2 separate regions of the Homo sapiens genome follow, and region 1 is linked to region 2. The links are contacts of gene promoters, found by promoter capture Hi-C in blood cells and fetal thymus (Javierre and others, 2016). All regions are on one chromosome and are shown on one strand. Each heading gives the region's core, a stretch centred on a gene start or on the middle of the fragment in contact. The rest is flanking DNA. Distances are from core to core; before and after follow the strand shown. Region 1 has its middle 7.7 kb from the start of ASMT. Region 2 holds the start of ASMTL-AS1 (ASMTL antisense RNA 1).

Evidence for each region. Contacts are between HindIII fragments. The CHiCAGO score rates a contact against its expected background, and 5 or more counts as called.
Region 1: a contact is called between a fragment that was not itself captured here and the fragment with the promoter of ASMTL-AS1 in region 2, in 2 of 17 cell types (naive CD8 T cells and neutrophils). The highest score is 6.4, in naive CD8 T cells.

The regions. Positions count from the first base shown.
Region 1 is chrX:1,603,649-1,611,069 of GRCh38, reverse strand. No RefSeq gene overlaps it. Among named protein-coding and RNA genes, the nearest start is that of ASMT, 7.7 kb to the left of the region's middle. RefSeq lists enhancers at 438-1,020, 1,021-1,605 and a silencer at 2,622-2,794. The HindIII fragment of the contact is 7,250 bases long and covers 1,543-7,421 here.
Region 2 is chrX:1,394,946-1,402,029 of GRCh38, reverse strand. ASMTL-AS1 (ASMTL antisense RNA 1) reads right to left here and starts at 1,499. Exons shown (of 6, transcript NR_026711.1): 1 at 1,444-1,499; 2 at 1-568. It overlaps LINC00106 (long intergenic non-protein coding RNA 106), which reads right to left and starts at 5,005. Exons shown (of 3, transcript NR_130733.1): 1 at 4,806-5,005; 2 at 3,072-3,205; 3 at 2,618-2,663. It overlaps LOC124900597 (serine/arginine repetitive matrix protein 1-like), which reads right to left. Exons shown (of 5, transcript XM_011546186.2): 3 at 6,482-6,900; 4 at 4,806-5,658; 5 at 3,169-3,205. The coding sequence ends at 5,638. The HindIII fragment of the contact is 21,745 bases long and covers 1-4,364 here.

The DNA of each region.
Region 1 (7,421 bases), core at 3,918-6,417, 210 kb before region 2:
AGGGGAGGGGAGGGAGAGCTGGATTTTGGGGTGAAGGTGGTTTTGGAAGTCTTTGAAATCCGAGGCAGGAGGGACCGGGTGGGTGCTCCCAGGAAAGACCGTCTCTGCCAGAGGGAACAGCAGGTGCGGAGGCCGTGGGGTAGCGGCAGTGCGTCCGGGCTGTTCAAAGAAGAGACAACAACCCTGCATGGGTGGAGCATCTGGAAAGACAGAGGGAGAGGAGGGGAGGGGGCCGATGGACAGGAGACAGGGTGGCTTTAAAAGCCCTCAGGGACATTGCACGGAACCCCTCACCACCTTGAGACAGCGTCTGGCAGGACGGTTTCAGGAGAGGCCTGCATGGTCTGGACACAGTCAGAAGCTGCCATTTTGGGGATGGGATGTTTGGGACACAGAGTTGGCCGGAAAGCCCAGGAGCTTTTGTATAACTTGGGTGAGTGGGACGGGCTGAAGTTTTGGCTGGAGTAGGGTCAGGGGTGGCCTGGAGTCTTAGCTGGAGTAGGGGCAGGGGAGGCCTGGAGGTTTGGCTGGAGCAGGGTCAGAGGCGGCCTGGAGGCTTGGCTGGAGTCGGGGTGGGGAGAGAGGCCATTTATTTTACTATCTCCTGTCTCTGAAGAGAAGGAGGAAGTAAAAGTTGAAAAACAACAGGAATGAAGTCAGTGGCAAGACCAGCCGGCACCCCTGACCAGGCCTGAGGTTAAAACATTAACCCCCGACTCTAACCACACGTGCTCTCAATCTATCAGAACCCTTTCACGTGGAACCCCTTAGAGTTGTAAGCCTTTCAAAGGGCCAGGAGCTCTGTCTTCGGAGAGCCCGGTTCTCGAGACGTGAGTCCGCCAACGCTTCCGGCCGAATAAAGCCAAAACCTTCCTAAACCTGGTGTCTGAGGGGTTTTATCCGCGGCTAGTCCTGCTACAGGGGCAGGAGTGGCCTGGAGGTTTGGCTGGAGTAGGAACGGGGGCGACCTGGACGCTTGGCTGGAACAGGGGCAGGGGCGGCCTGGAGGGTTGGCTGGAGCAGGGGCGGGGCGGCCTGGAGCTTTGGCTGGAGCAGGGGACAGGGGTGGCCTGGAGGCTTGGCTGGAGGAGGAGCAGGGGCGGCCTGGAGGCTTGGTTTGAGTAGGGGACAGCGGCGGCCTGGAGGTTTGGCTGCAGTAGGGACAGGGGTGGCCTGGAGGCTTGGCTGGAGTAAAGGAAGGACTGGCCTGGAGGCTTGGCTGGAGTAGGTGACAGGGCCTCCTGGAGGCTTGGGTGGAGTAGGGGACAGGGGTGGCCTGGAGCTTTGGCTGGAGTAGGGGCAGGGGCGGCCTGGAGCTTTGGCTGGAGTAGGGGACACGGGCAGCCTGGAGGCTTGGCTGGAGTAGAGGACAGGGGCGGCCTGGAGGCTTGGCTGGAGTAGAGGACAGGGGCGGTCTGGAGGCTTGGTTTGAGTAGGGGACAGGGGCGGCCTGGAGATTTGGCTGCAGTAGGAACAGGGGTGGCCTGGAGGCTTGGGTGGAGTAGGGGAAGGGCTGTACTGGAGGCTCAGGCACCTGAAGCTTCCTACAGGCCTCGGAGTCTCACCGCGGCAGCGGCAGCAGGAGAGGAGGGGCCCGAGAGAGATTGAGAAGAGCCTGGGACCCTACCGACCAGCGTGGTGTCCCCATGTCCCCAGAATGCAGAAGACCCAGGGCTGGGGTTTGGCGGGGATGTGTGGAGTCTGAGATGCCTGTGGGGTGACTGGCCCTGGATGGTCCAGTGTGCAGGTCCTGCCCTGGGGCAACTGTAAACAGCCGCCCCCTCCGTTCTCCCAGGGGAACATACTGTTGCTTTTTTTTTTTTTTTTTGAGACGGAGTCTCGCTCTGTCACCCAGGCTGGAGTGCAGTGGCGTGATCTTGGCTCACTGCAAGCTCCGCCTCCCGGGTTCACGCCATTCTCCTGCCTCAGCCTCCCCAGTAGCTGGGACTACAGGCACCTGCCACCACACTCGGCTAATTTTGTTTTTGTATTTTTAGTAGAGACGGCATTTCACCGTGTTAGCCAGGATGGTCTCGATCTCCTGACTTCGTGATCCGCCCAACTCGGAGTCCCAAAGTGCTGGGATTACAGGCGTGAGCCACCGCGCTCAGCCCCTGGAGTAGGGACAGGGGTGACCTGGAGGCTTGGCTGGAGTAGGGGCAGGGGTGACCTGGAGGCTTGGCTGGAGTAGGGTCAGGGGTGGCCTGGAGTCTTAGCTGGAGTAGGCGCAGGGGTGGCCTGGAGAGGTAAAGCCTGTTGCCTTTACCTCCCAATGACCCTGGCACAGATGGGCTTCCGGACTGAGTGCCTCGGTGGTCTCTGGCAGCCTGGACAGCCTGGACAAGAGTCATTTGCTGCAGAGAGGGGACGGGACGGAGTGATGGGAAAAGTTTTTCACCAGGAGCAGAGGCATGAGCTGAGTGAGGTGGGGTGCAGGGAAAAGCCCCTGCCATCTGGGACGGAGGCGGCAGCCCCTGTGCAGGCCGATCCAGTGGCCGGGTGCAAACTCGGGAGGTTTGCTGGGGCAGCGTACAGCGGGGAGGGTAGGGGGTCGAGCTCCCGCTCTGAGTCAGGCTGTGCAGGAGAGCAAGGCGGGAGACACAGGATGCCCCAGCTCCTGGGCAGGTGGACGGGGCTTGAGGACGCCACCAGGAGGGTGTGCGTGTCCTCCACCAGGTGGGAAGGAGGATGAGCTAGTGAGGAGGGGCAGGTGCCCAGGAAGGAGGCATGGGAGGAGGTCCCAGACGGGATGCCTGGGTGATGCAGCTCCGCTCACCCCTGCCCGAGCTGGCCGGTCCGGCCGCAGCTTCAGCATCCCCTGGGAAGCCGCTGTTGGAGATGCTGGAGGCCTGCGGGGCGGGCCAGGGCAACACATCACCACCTGGACATCCATGGCTACGGCTGAGGGCTGGGACCTCTCCTATACCCCCCATGCATGCATGTTTTTCTATACTCTTTATTGTTTTACTTTTTTTGAGATGGAGTCTCGCTCTGTCGCCCAGGCTGGAGTGCAGTGGCGCAATCGCCTCTCACTGCAAGCTCCGCCTCCCGGGTTCACACCGTTCTCCTGCCTCAGCCTCCGGAGTAGCTGGGACCACAGGCGCCCGTCACCACGCCCGGCTAGTTTTTTTTGTATTTTTAGTAGAGACGGGGTTTCACCGTGTTAGCCAGGATGGTCTCGATCTCCTGACCTCGTGATCCGCCCGCCTGGGCCTCCCGAAGTGCTGGGATTACAGGCGTGAGCCACCGCGCCCGGTCTGTTTTTCTTTTTAGAGACAGAGGGTCTCTCTTTTAGAGATGGGGTCTCACTCTGTCGCTCAGGCTGGAGTGCAGGGGCACCATCATTTCTCCCTGCAGCCTTGAACTCCTGGGGTCAAGCGATCCTCCTGCCTCAGCCTCCCGAGTAGCTGGGGCCACAGGCACCCACCACCACGCCCAGCTACTTTAAAAACTTTAAAGTTTCTGTATGTTTGCTAGAGACAAGCTCTCACCATGTTGCCCAGGCTGGTCTCGAATGCCTGGGCTCAGTCAATCCTCCTGCCTCAGCCTCCTGAGTAGCTGGGACTACAGGTGCCTGCCACCAAGCCTGATTAATTATCTTTGTAGAGATGGGGTCTTGCTATGTTGCCCAGGCTGTTCTCAAACTCCTGGGCTCAAGCTATCCTCCTGCCTCGGCCTCCCAGAGTGCTGGGATTACAGGCATGAGCCAACCTACGCATTTGTAATATTATCTAAAATTTTTCAAAAATGCAGATGGTGCCATTTTAGACATAGAATATGTAATTTTTCAAAAACTCTTTGCTTCATCCCGAAGGCTGCGGCCTATGGAATTTGAACATGATCACAATCTGGTAACCGTATTCACCCATTTTAACAATACAGGTGAACAAATTAACAGCAGTTCATGTCATATTGGCACTTTTGAAATACATTTTATTTATTTATTTATTTATTTGAGATGGAATCTCACTCTGTCATCCAGGCTGGTGTGCAGTGGGGTGATCTCGGCTCACTGCAACCTCCGCCTCCCGGGTTCAAGCGATTCTCCTGCCTCAGCCTCCCGAGTAGCTGGGACTACAGGCACGCACCTCCATGTCCAGGTAATTTTTGTATTTTTAGTAGAGATGGGGTTTCACCGTGTTGGCTGGGCTGGTCTGGAACTCCTGACCTCGGGTGATCTGCCTGCCTCAGCCTCCCAGAGTGCTGGGATGACAGGCGTCAGCCACTGCACCTGGCCCATTTTTTTTTTTTTTACCTTGATGTATTATTATAGATTTAGGGCATAGAAGTGCAGTTTCGTTACCCTGGAGGCCGTTACTTTAATTGAAATCACAGAGACACAGAAAGTCAAACGCAGCGTGTTCTCACTTCTGAGTGGGAGCTGAGTAATGTGTTCACGTGAGCACAGAGAGTGGAATCGTAGACACAGCGCTGCTTTATTCACACGTACCCGTATCCCCATCCTCCTTCCCTCTGGAATTCCAAGCTGCACTTTTGAACTTGAAAGTTTACCTGGTGAGGCTGGGTGCGGTGGTTGATGCCTATATTCCCAGCACTTTGGGAGGCAGGTGGATCACCTGAGGTCAGGAGCTTGAGACCAGCCTGGTCAACCTGGTGAAACCCCATCTCTACTAAAAATTAAAAAAAAAAAAAATAGCCAGGTGTGGTGGCAGACACCTGTAATCCCAGCTACTTGGGAGGCTGAGGCAGGAGAATCACTTGAACCCGGGAGGCGGAGGTTGTGGAGAGCCGAGATTGTGCCACTGCACTCCAGCCTGGGCGACGGAGCGAGACTGTCTTGAAAAAAAACAAAAAAACGGAAGGAGCCGAGGATGGTCACCGTGACACAGGCCATACTCAACAGGGAAGTTTGATTTTTTTGGCTGAAAGAGATCCTGAGATCCCAACTGAAGACACGAGGCAAATCGGTTCAGAACTAAGTGTCATAAAAGGGTATGAACGAGAGAATCACACTTTCTCACTCGTATTTTGCAATAAATCCATTCGTTTTCTGTTCTGCCACATGGAAGTGAAATTCCTTGTGGATTTTTATTTTTTATTTTTTATTTTTTGTGAGACAGAGTTTCACTCTTGTCGCCCAAGCTGGAGTGCAATGGTGCGATCTCAGCTCACCGCAATCTCCGCCCCCCAGGTTCAAGTAATTCTCCTGCCTCAGCCTGCTGAGTAGCTGCGACTATAGGCATGTGACAACACGCCTGGCTAATTTTTGTATTTTTAGTAGAGACAGGGTTTCTCCATGTTGGTCAGGCTGGTCTTGAACTTCTGACCTCAGGAGATCCACCAGCCTCGACCTCCCGACGTGCTGGGATTACAGGGATGAGCCACTGCACCCGGCCTATTGTGGATATTTTAAGTGGATAATAATCCCAATCACTAGAAAGGGACTGAACACAAAGTGCCCTAAATCACAAGACCGAGAGAGACAAAGAGAGACTAAAATAGAGATAGGGAGAGAGGGCAAGCAGAGGGGAAGCTGGGCGAGAGGAGAGAAGGAAGGATTAAGAGAGGAGGAGAGACAGGCCGGGAGCGGTGGCTCACGCCTATAATCCCAGCATTTTGGGAGGCCAAGACAGGTGGATCACGAGGTCAGGAGTTCAAGACCAGCCTGGCCAAGATGGTGAAACCTCGTCTCTACCAAAAATACAAAAAATTAGCCGGGCATGGCAGCAGGTGCCTGTAATCCCAGCTACTTGGGAGGCTGAGGCAGAGAATTGCTTGAACCCAGGAGGCGGAGGTTGCACTGGGCCGAGATCGCGCCACTGCACTCCAGCCTGGGCAACGGTGAGATTCCATCTCAAAAAAAAAAAAAAGAAAGAAAAAAAAGAAAGGAGGAGAGACAGAGACAAAAACAGAGATCAGAAGAGAGTACAAGCAGAGGGGAAGCTGGGCGAGAGAAGAGACAGCAGGGAAAAACAGGGGAGAGACTGACAGGGGTTGAGAGAGGGAGGAGGGCAGGGCACGCACACACCAATCTCCTATGCTCCCCCCAGAAATCTGTGGGGCAACATTCCTCGGGTCGAATGCTTCCATTTCTTCCTTCCAGGCTCAAGTGTAAAGACAAAATCTAATCAGTAACAGCGTTGCTTCAATTAATCTCCATTCTCACCTATCAGCCGCTACTTACTGCTACTGACCCCTACAGCAAAGAAGAGAAATTTCAGCCGGGCGCGGTGGCTCACGCCTGTAATCCCAGCACTTTGAGAGGCCGAGGCTGGTGGATCTCCTGAGGTCAGGAGTTCAAGACCAGCCTGGCCAACATGAAGAAACCCTGCCTCTACTTAAAAATTCAAAAATTTTAGAATTTTTGAATTCGTCTCAAAAAATAAAAGAGAAATAGGAAAGAGGGAAGGAAGGAAAGGAAAAAAGAAAGAGAAAAGGAAAGAAAAGGAAAAGAAAGGGAGGGAGGGAAGGAAGGAAGGAGAGAGAGAGAGAGCACGAGCGATAGACAAAAGAGAAAACAGAGAAAAGGAGTTCAGATTCCTAAATCTCTTCCATAGATACCCAATTCTATAGGCCTGGGGGTGGTGCTCTCCAGCTTTCCTAGACTGCCCACATCTAACATATCACAAGGCAACACGCATTCAATTTCTGCCACCTTCTCTCCCATCAACCCCTAGCCCAGTCCACCAGCACTTCAAGCCGCCACACTCATCACACTCCCAGCTTACAGCCCCTCTTGCTTCTCGTCCCAAAAGTCTGGAGTGGGTCAGCCTCATGAGTGCGATCAGCTCCATGTCCACCTTTCCTGCTTCTCTTCTGCCTACTCCTTCCCCCGGCCACATGCACTTCTTGACCTCAGACACACCACGTCCACCCTTCTGTCTTGCGCACACAGCTCTCTCGAGAAGCTATCACTGGGACTTCTCATCCCTGTATCTACACATTCCTCAGCGTTGCAGGGAGTGCTGTCTTTTCCAGCACCATATCCCAGGTGCCCAGAGCAACACCTGGTCCTAGCAACGTTGTTTGTTTGTTTGTTTGTTTTTGAGATGGAGTCTCGCTCTGTCGCCCAGGCTGGAGTGCAGTGGCGTGATCTCGGCTCACTGCAACCTCTGCCCCCCAGATTCAAGCGATTCTCCTACCTCAGCCTCCCGAGTAGCTGGGATTACAGGTGACCATCCCCACGCCCGGCTAGTTTTTTGTGTTTTTAGTAGAGACGGGGTTTCACCATGTTGGCCAGGCTGGTCTTGAACTCCTGACCTCAGGTGATCCACCTACCTCGGCCTCCCAAAGTGCTGGGATAACAGGTGTGAGCCACCATGCCCGGCCCTGGCAACGCTCTAATAACTACTGAACAGGCAAAAAGCTCAGTGCTGGGCTGGACAGACTGACACAGATACACAGCTTTTTTTTTTTTTTTTGACAGGAGTCTCGCTCTGTCGCCCAGGCTGGAGTGCAGT
Region 2 (7,084 bases), core at 250-2,749:
TCCTGCCTTGGTGCAGAGACTGTCACGAGCGGGACCTCCCCAGCCCCTGCTGCGGGGCTGAAATGCGTCTGTAAACACCCCCCACCCCGAGCCCAGGCAGGCCAGACTCACACCCACCCCGTGAGGCCCTCCTGGGCACATGCTCACTGCGGTTGTAGGGAGCTCAGCGCATCCACGTTTCCCCCGTGCTCCGCTCCCAGCTGCTGTTCCCGGCCTGTGTCCCGACCCTCAGACCTCAGTTCACCCTCTGGTGCCCACACAGCCCCCTTTCCTCCCTGGCCCCTCCACCAGGGAATGGCTGGGCCAACCTGGGGCTGGGCTGGGGTGGAGCCCTTTAACTCACAGCCTTGACCTTAGGAGGCACTGAGGTTCAGGAGGCATCTGCAAAGCGAGAACCGGAGCAGGCCTAGGTGCTGTTTTCACGGCGCGTGCACCCAGCTTACCTGTTCCTGGGCTGGGCGTCAGTCTCCTATATTTCAGCTGTTTTCCTTTTTCTGAGACAGACTCTGGAGTTTAGCTCTTCTTACCCAGACTGGAGTACAATAATGCAATCTCGGCTCACTGCAACCTCCGCCTCCTGGGCAGTCTATTTCAAGGTGCAAACTCCGCCTCCTGGGCGGCCTATTTCAAGGTGGAAGCCCCACCTTCTAGGCCTATTTCAAGGTGCAAGCCCCGCCTCCCGGGCGGCCTATTACAAGGTGCAAGCTCCGCCTCCCAGGCGGCCTGTTTCAAGGTGCAACCCCACCTCCCGGGCGGCCTATTTCAAGGGGCAAGCCCTGCCTCCTGGGCGGCCTATATCAAGGTGCGAGCTCTGCCTCCCAGGCAGCCTATTTCAAGGTGCAACCCCGCCTCCTGGGCGGCCTATTTCAAGGGGCAAGCCCCGCCTCCTGGGTGGCCTATTTCAAGGTGCAACCCCGCCTTCTGGGCGGCCTATTTCAAGGTGCAAGCCCCGCCTCCCGGGCGGCCTATTTCAAGGCGCAAGCTCCGCCTCCTAGCCCAATTTCAAGGTGCACCCTCTGCCTCCTGGGCGGCCTATTTCAAGGTGCTCACTGCACAGATGGGAGTGGTTTTCTGCAATGGTCACGGATGATCTCAATAACACCAAAGTCACATGCTGCTCCACCCTTACAGTGGCCTGGTATCACAAAAGAATGTGTAGGTTGCTTTGTGCTTTAAGAAAACAGCTGAAATAGGCTGGGTGCAGTGGCTCACGCCTGTCATCCCAGCACTTTGGGAGGCTGAGGTGGGCGGATCACCTGTGGTCAGGAATTCGAGACCAGCCTGGCCAACAGAGTGAAATCCTGTCTCTACACAAAATACAAACACTAGCCGGGCATAGTGGCAGGAGCCTATAATCCCAGCTACAGGGGGGAGGCTGAGACAGGAGGATGGCTTGAACCCAGTAGGTGGAGGTTGCAGTGAGCCGAGATTGTGCCACTGCACTCCAGCCTGGGCGACAGAGTGAGACTCCGTCTAAATAAATAAATAAAAGAAAACAAAACTGATCTCTATATATTTTATGTAATATAAATTATGTGTTCCATAAATTCTGTAAATTATGTGTTCTATCCGTGTACAGGCACGTGTGTAGAGGTGTGAGTGTTCAGGTGTGTATACATACACATACACACCCATCTGTGCGCACACACACACACACACACACACAGTCACGTGTGTCACTGAATGACAGGGACCTGTTTCGGGAAATGCATCCTTAGGCAATTCTCTTTGTGTGCCCATCACGGGGTGCACTCACACATACCGCCGTGGCACATACAGCCTGCTACTCACCTGGGCTGTGCGGCAGGGCCCCAGGCTCCCGGGCTACAAACCTGGACAGCAGGTGAGTGTGCCCAGTGCTGCAGGCTGCTGTAATACAATGGTAGGGATTTGTGTGTCTACAAATAAAGGCACACGAAAACTACTGTATTACCATCTCCTGGGACCTCCGCTGTCTAGGAAGGCCGTTGTTGACTGAAGGGTTGTTACCTGGCACAGGTGACTGTGTATAATTCTGGACAGACTCCGTTTTTTTTTTGGTCTGTTTTTTTCTTTTTTGAGACAGAATCTCACTCTGTTGCCCAGGCTGGAGTGCAATGGCACGATCTTGGCTCACTACAACCTCCACCTCCCGGGATCAAGTAGTTATCCTGTCTCAGCCTCCTGAGTAGCTGGGATTACAGGCACCCACCACCATGCCCGCCTAATTTTTGTGTTTTTAGTAGAGATGGGGTTTCACCATGTTGGCCAGGTTGGTCTGGAACTCCCGACCTCAGGTAATCCGCCCACCTTGGCCTCCCAAAGTGCTGGGATTACAGGCACGCACCACCAAACCCAGCTAATTTTTGTATTTTTAGTAGAGACGGGGTTTCACCATGTTGGCCAGGGTGGTCTAGAACTCCTAACCTCAGGTGATCCGCCCACCTCGGCCTCCCACAGTGCAGGGATTACGGGCATGCGCCACCACACGCGGCTAATTTTTCTATTTTTAGTAGAGACGGGGTTTCACCATGTTGGCCAGGCTGGTCTCGAACTCCTGACCTCAGGTGATCTGCCCACCTCGGCCTCCTAAAGTGCTGGCATTGCAGGCGTGAGCCACCGTGCCCGGCCTGACTCATTTTTTTTTTTTTTTTACAATCACACATGGTGTCTCCATGGGAGGCCTAGATGAAACAAGAAGAAAATTTGGCTTTGATGATGAAAGGGGGAGTCCAGTGCGGTGGCGCATGCCTGTGGCCCTCACCGCGTGGCAATCAAGAAGGATGAGGCTTCCAGGCCCCTCCATCACACTGGCCTCAGCGTGGGGCCAGGCAGGACCTGACAGCCACCAGGAGATGCCACGGAGCCCAGCCCTGCAGAGCAGCCAGGCCTCTGTCCCTCCTACCTCCCTCCTCCCTCCCTTCCCACGTCAGCCTGGCCCGTAACTGTCCCTCCTTCCTCCCTTCCCACATCAGCCTGGCCCAGAGCTGGGGCGACAGCATCCCGGTCACCTCGGGCTGCCCCAGCCAAACTCCTCTGTCCTGTTCTGAGAAAGCAGGCAAAGTCCCTGCCTACAGGGTTCCCCCACGTACCTGCAGGACACCGTCTGTCTTACGGCACGAAGCCCAGGGCCTCCGTAGGGCTCACAGGCGGCTTCTAGAGAAGATGCCCGCCACAGGTGCTCTCTGCTCCATCTCAGGTGACCACTGGCCATCTCGGAAGAAACCTGCTTTGATGGTTTTGAAGCCTGAAGCTCCTTCCTCTCCAGCCCCTGCCACCCGGGGCGGGGAATGGGGACGGGATGCAGACAGAGGTGGGCCCAGCCCTCCAGGAGTTCTAGGGGCTAGGGACAGATTCCCACCACTTGGATGCCCAGGGAAGGCCCCACCCCAGATTGAAATGTTCATGGGTCCAAGAAGGTTCTGGGAGTCACCCCAGGAAGAGGCCGGCATGGGAGGTGCCTCTCGGTGGAGAGAATCAGAGGCGCCTGCCCTAGGGGGAGCCCAGGCCCCCCTTCGTCTTGGCTGCTGGGAGTGAGCTGGGGGGCCGCATGGTTGCAGCAGGGACCTCCGGCATGGCCTCCCTGTGTTCTGGTGCCCTCGCCATTTGCCCTTAAAGCAAGGGCCCGTGGAGGGAGTCCCCCAGGTGGAAGGAAGTCGGATAAAGGGTCCCTGGGGCTTGTTCCTCTCCCTCTCCCTTCAGTGTCTGCTAGAAATTTTTTTTTTTTTTTTTTTTTGAGACAGTCTCACTGTCGCCCAGGCTGGAGTGCAGTGGTGTGATCTCGGCTCACTGCAACCTCCGCCTCCCGGGTTCAAGCGATTCTCCTGCCTTAGCCTCCGCAATAGCTAAAATTACAGGCGCCCACCACCACGCCCAGCTAATTTTTTTGTATTTTCAGTAGAGACGAGGTTTCACCATGTTGGCCAGGCTGGTCTTCAGCTCTTGACTTCAGGCAATCCACCCCGCCTCGGCCTCCCAAAGTGCTCGGATGACAGGCGTGAGCCACCACGCCCAGCCCGTCTTTTTATTCATTGGAGTAACTGTGCAAAAACAGGACCTCTGGACTCTTAAGAGTCTGTGTGTGGCATGCACAGAACATCCCGAGGATTGTGATGATTTAAAAACCAGTGGGGTGACAAGGCTGGAATTCTGTGCAGGGCAGCCTGGCGGGCCGGGTTCACCCACTAACTCCTCCTCTACTCAGCGAGCACTGCACTATGAGTGTCTGGTGCATACCAGGAGTGTCCGTCTGGCTCTAAAACAGCCTCTGGATTCATCTGGGGGCCGGGGCAGGGGAAGCGGGAGGACAACAGATCCTAAGGATGATGTCGAGTACACAGCTCCTCCCTACCTGCCCAGCTCGAAGGCGCACGTCCAGGGAAGCTTTGCAGAGAGCCCTTTTCCAGGGTAAAAGTCTTAGGGGGCTCTTCTAGGGGGAGAGGTCTTGGGGAGCCCTCTTCCAGGGGGCAGGTCTTGGGGGGCACCTTCACGGGGGAAGTCTTCGGGGGCCTCCTTCAGAGGGCAGTCTTGGGGGGACCCCGTTCGGGGGGCCTTTTGAGGAGCCCTTTTCAGGGGGGTGACCCTGGGAGTCCCTTTTCAGGGATGAGGTCTTGGGGAGCCCTCTTCAGGGGCAATGCCTTTTGGGGGCCCTCTTCTGGGGAAAGGGGTCTGTCAAGCCCCCTCATCCTGCAGCCTCATCAGCCCTCCCCGGACCACACTTCGTACAGGCAGAGCCTCGGCAATGATTAATTACAAAAGATGTGCTGCTGCCCCCACCCGACACAGAGCCTGGCACCCCACCCCACCCCGCACAAAGCCAACCTCACCCCTGCTCTGATTCCTTCCCGGCCGTCCGATGAAGCCTGAAGTCTTCCCGTTAAAACACCTCTGCTTCTGGGCGGGGCGCGGTGGCTCACAGCTGTCATCCCGGCACTTTGGGAGGCCGAGGTGGGCGGATCACTTGAGGTCAGGAGTTTGAGACCAGCCTGCTTGGGCCTGGCACCCAGGATGTGCTTGCCAAATGCTTCTGGAATGGATGGATGGAACCCCATCTCTACTAAAAATACAAAAATCAGGCGTGGTGGTGCACACTTGCTATCCCAGCTACTTGGGAGGCTGAGGCAGAAGACATGCTTGAACCTGGGAGGCAGGGATTGCAGCGAGCCGAGATCACGCCACTGCACTCCAGCCTGGGCCACAGAGCAAGACTCCGTCTCAATAAACACACAAACAAAAAAACCCACATCTACTTCTATTATTAACCCACCTACTTTTCTGAGCCCCAAGGGGCTTTCTGGACAGATTCCAGCAGAGCGGCTGCTGGTCAGGCAGCAGTGATCTCTAAAGCTACGCAGGTAATTTTATCAGATGCTGGCAGAGAAGGGGTTCTCATGGGTGGGTACCTGGCAGGCGGATCGGGGCTCATTCCTTTCTTCTTGGTCCTTGGAGGGGCAGGGCAGTGAGAGACACAGCTCTACCCCCACTACCCAGCAGCTGTTGTCTCTCCCACTTCCAATTCCTGGGTGTGAGGCCCACCTGATCCTCCTTTCCCAAGGAGGCTGTGTGGCCCCAAAGGCCTCCCAGGTCATGCCCTAGTCAGGCATAGCAACTGTGTTGTTCCCTCCCAGATACGAGGGGCAAAGGAGTTAGTGTCCAAGGCTAAGTCCCACGTGCAGCACTCTGTATGGAAAAACAGCCCCAATTAGCAATTCATTCATCCATCCATCCATCCATCCATTCATCCATCCATCCATCTATTCATCCATCCATCATCCATTCATTCCAGAAGCATTTGCTGAGTGAGCACATCCATCTATCCATGCATCCATCCACCCACCCATTACCCATCCAATTATCCATCCATTCCAGAAGCATTTGCCGATCGAGCGCATCCATCCATCCATCCACCCATCCATTCCAGAATCATTTACCAAGCAAACACATCCATCTATCCATCCATCCACCCACTCATTGATTATCCATCTATCCATCCATTATCCATCCATCCATCCCAGAAGCATTTGCCAACAGAGTGCATCCATCCATCCACCCACCCACCCATTCATTATCCATCCATCCATTCATTCTAGAATCATTTGCCAAGCAAACATATCCATCTATCCATCTGTCCATCCACCCATTCATTATCCATCCACCCACTCATTATCCATCCATCCCAGAAGCATCCATTATTCATCCATCCACCCATTATCCATCATCCATCCACCCATTATCCATCCATCCATCCATCATCCATCCATCTATACATTATCCATCCATCTATCCATTATCCATCCATCCATCCATTATCCATCCATCCATCCATTATCCATCCACCCACCCATTACCCATCCAATTATCCATCCATTCCAGAAGCATTTGCCGATCGAGCACATCCATCCATCCACCCACCCATTCATTATCCATCCATCCATCATCCATCCATCCATCCATCTATCCATTATCCATCTATCCATTATCCATCCATCCGTTATCCACTCACCCATCCATCCATCCATCCCAGAAGCATTTGCCAAGCACATCCTGGGAGCCAGGCCCAAGCAGGCGGGCATCCTCCTGGCTCTGAGAGGAGCTTGAGCAGAGCCCACAGACAGCACCACCCTGCTGGCGGGTCACCAAGCCACCAAGCCAGTGCAGGCTGAAGGCTGAGCACACAGAGCACCGGTCTCAGTGTCTGGACATGGTTAGCCGTCCCCACCCGCATGGAAGGAAACTTCTTCTCTCCCCTAAGACAGGCTTTGCAGACTTGGAAAGGGAACGCCGTGTTGCAGGGCTCAGGCCTGGAGCCCCGGCCAGAGCAGATGCGAGCCAGCCTCATCTGGAAATAGCAGCTCTGGTCCCGGCCTCGCTGAGGCACTGAAAACCAGCACCAGGGCCCCGTCCAGCCCGGCCTCGCTGAGGCTGGGAAACAAACACAGGTCTGTAAGGCGCAGCTCCCCAGCAAACTCCCCACCCCTGCCCAGCACCCACAGCGCTCCTGGCCTCTGTCCTCTATTCCAGGACCCCTGTAGCGAGCCTGGCTTGGTCCTGGGTCCTCAGGGGACACTGTCCACCCCCGCTGCCCTGGCAGAGCCTCAGGAATGTG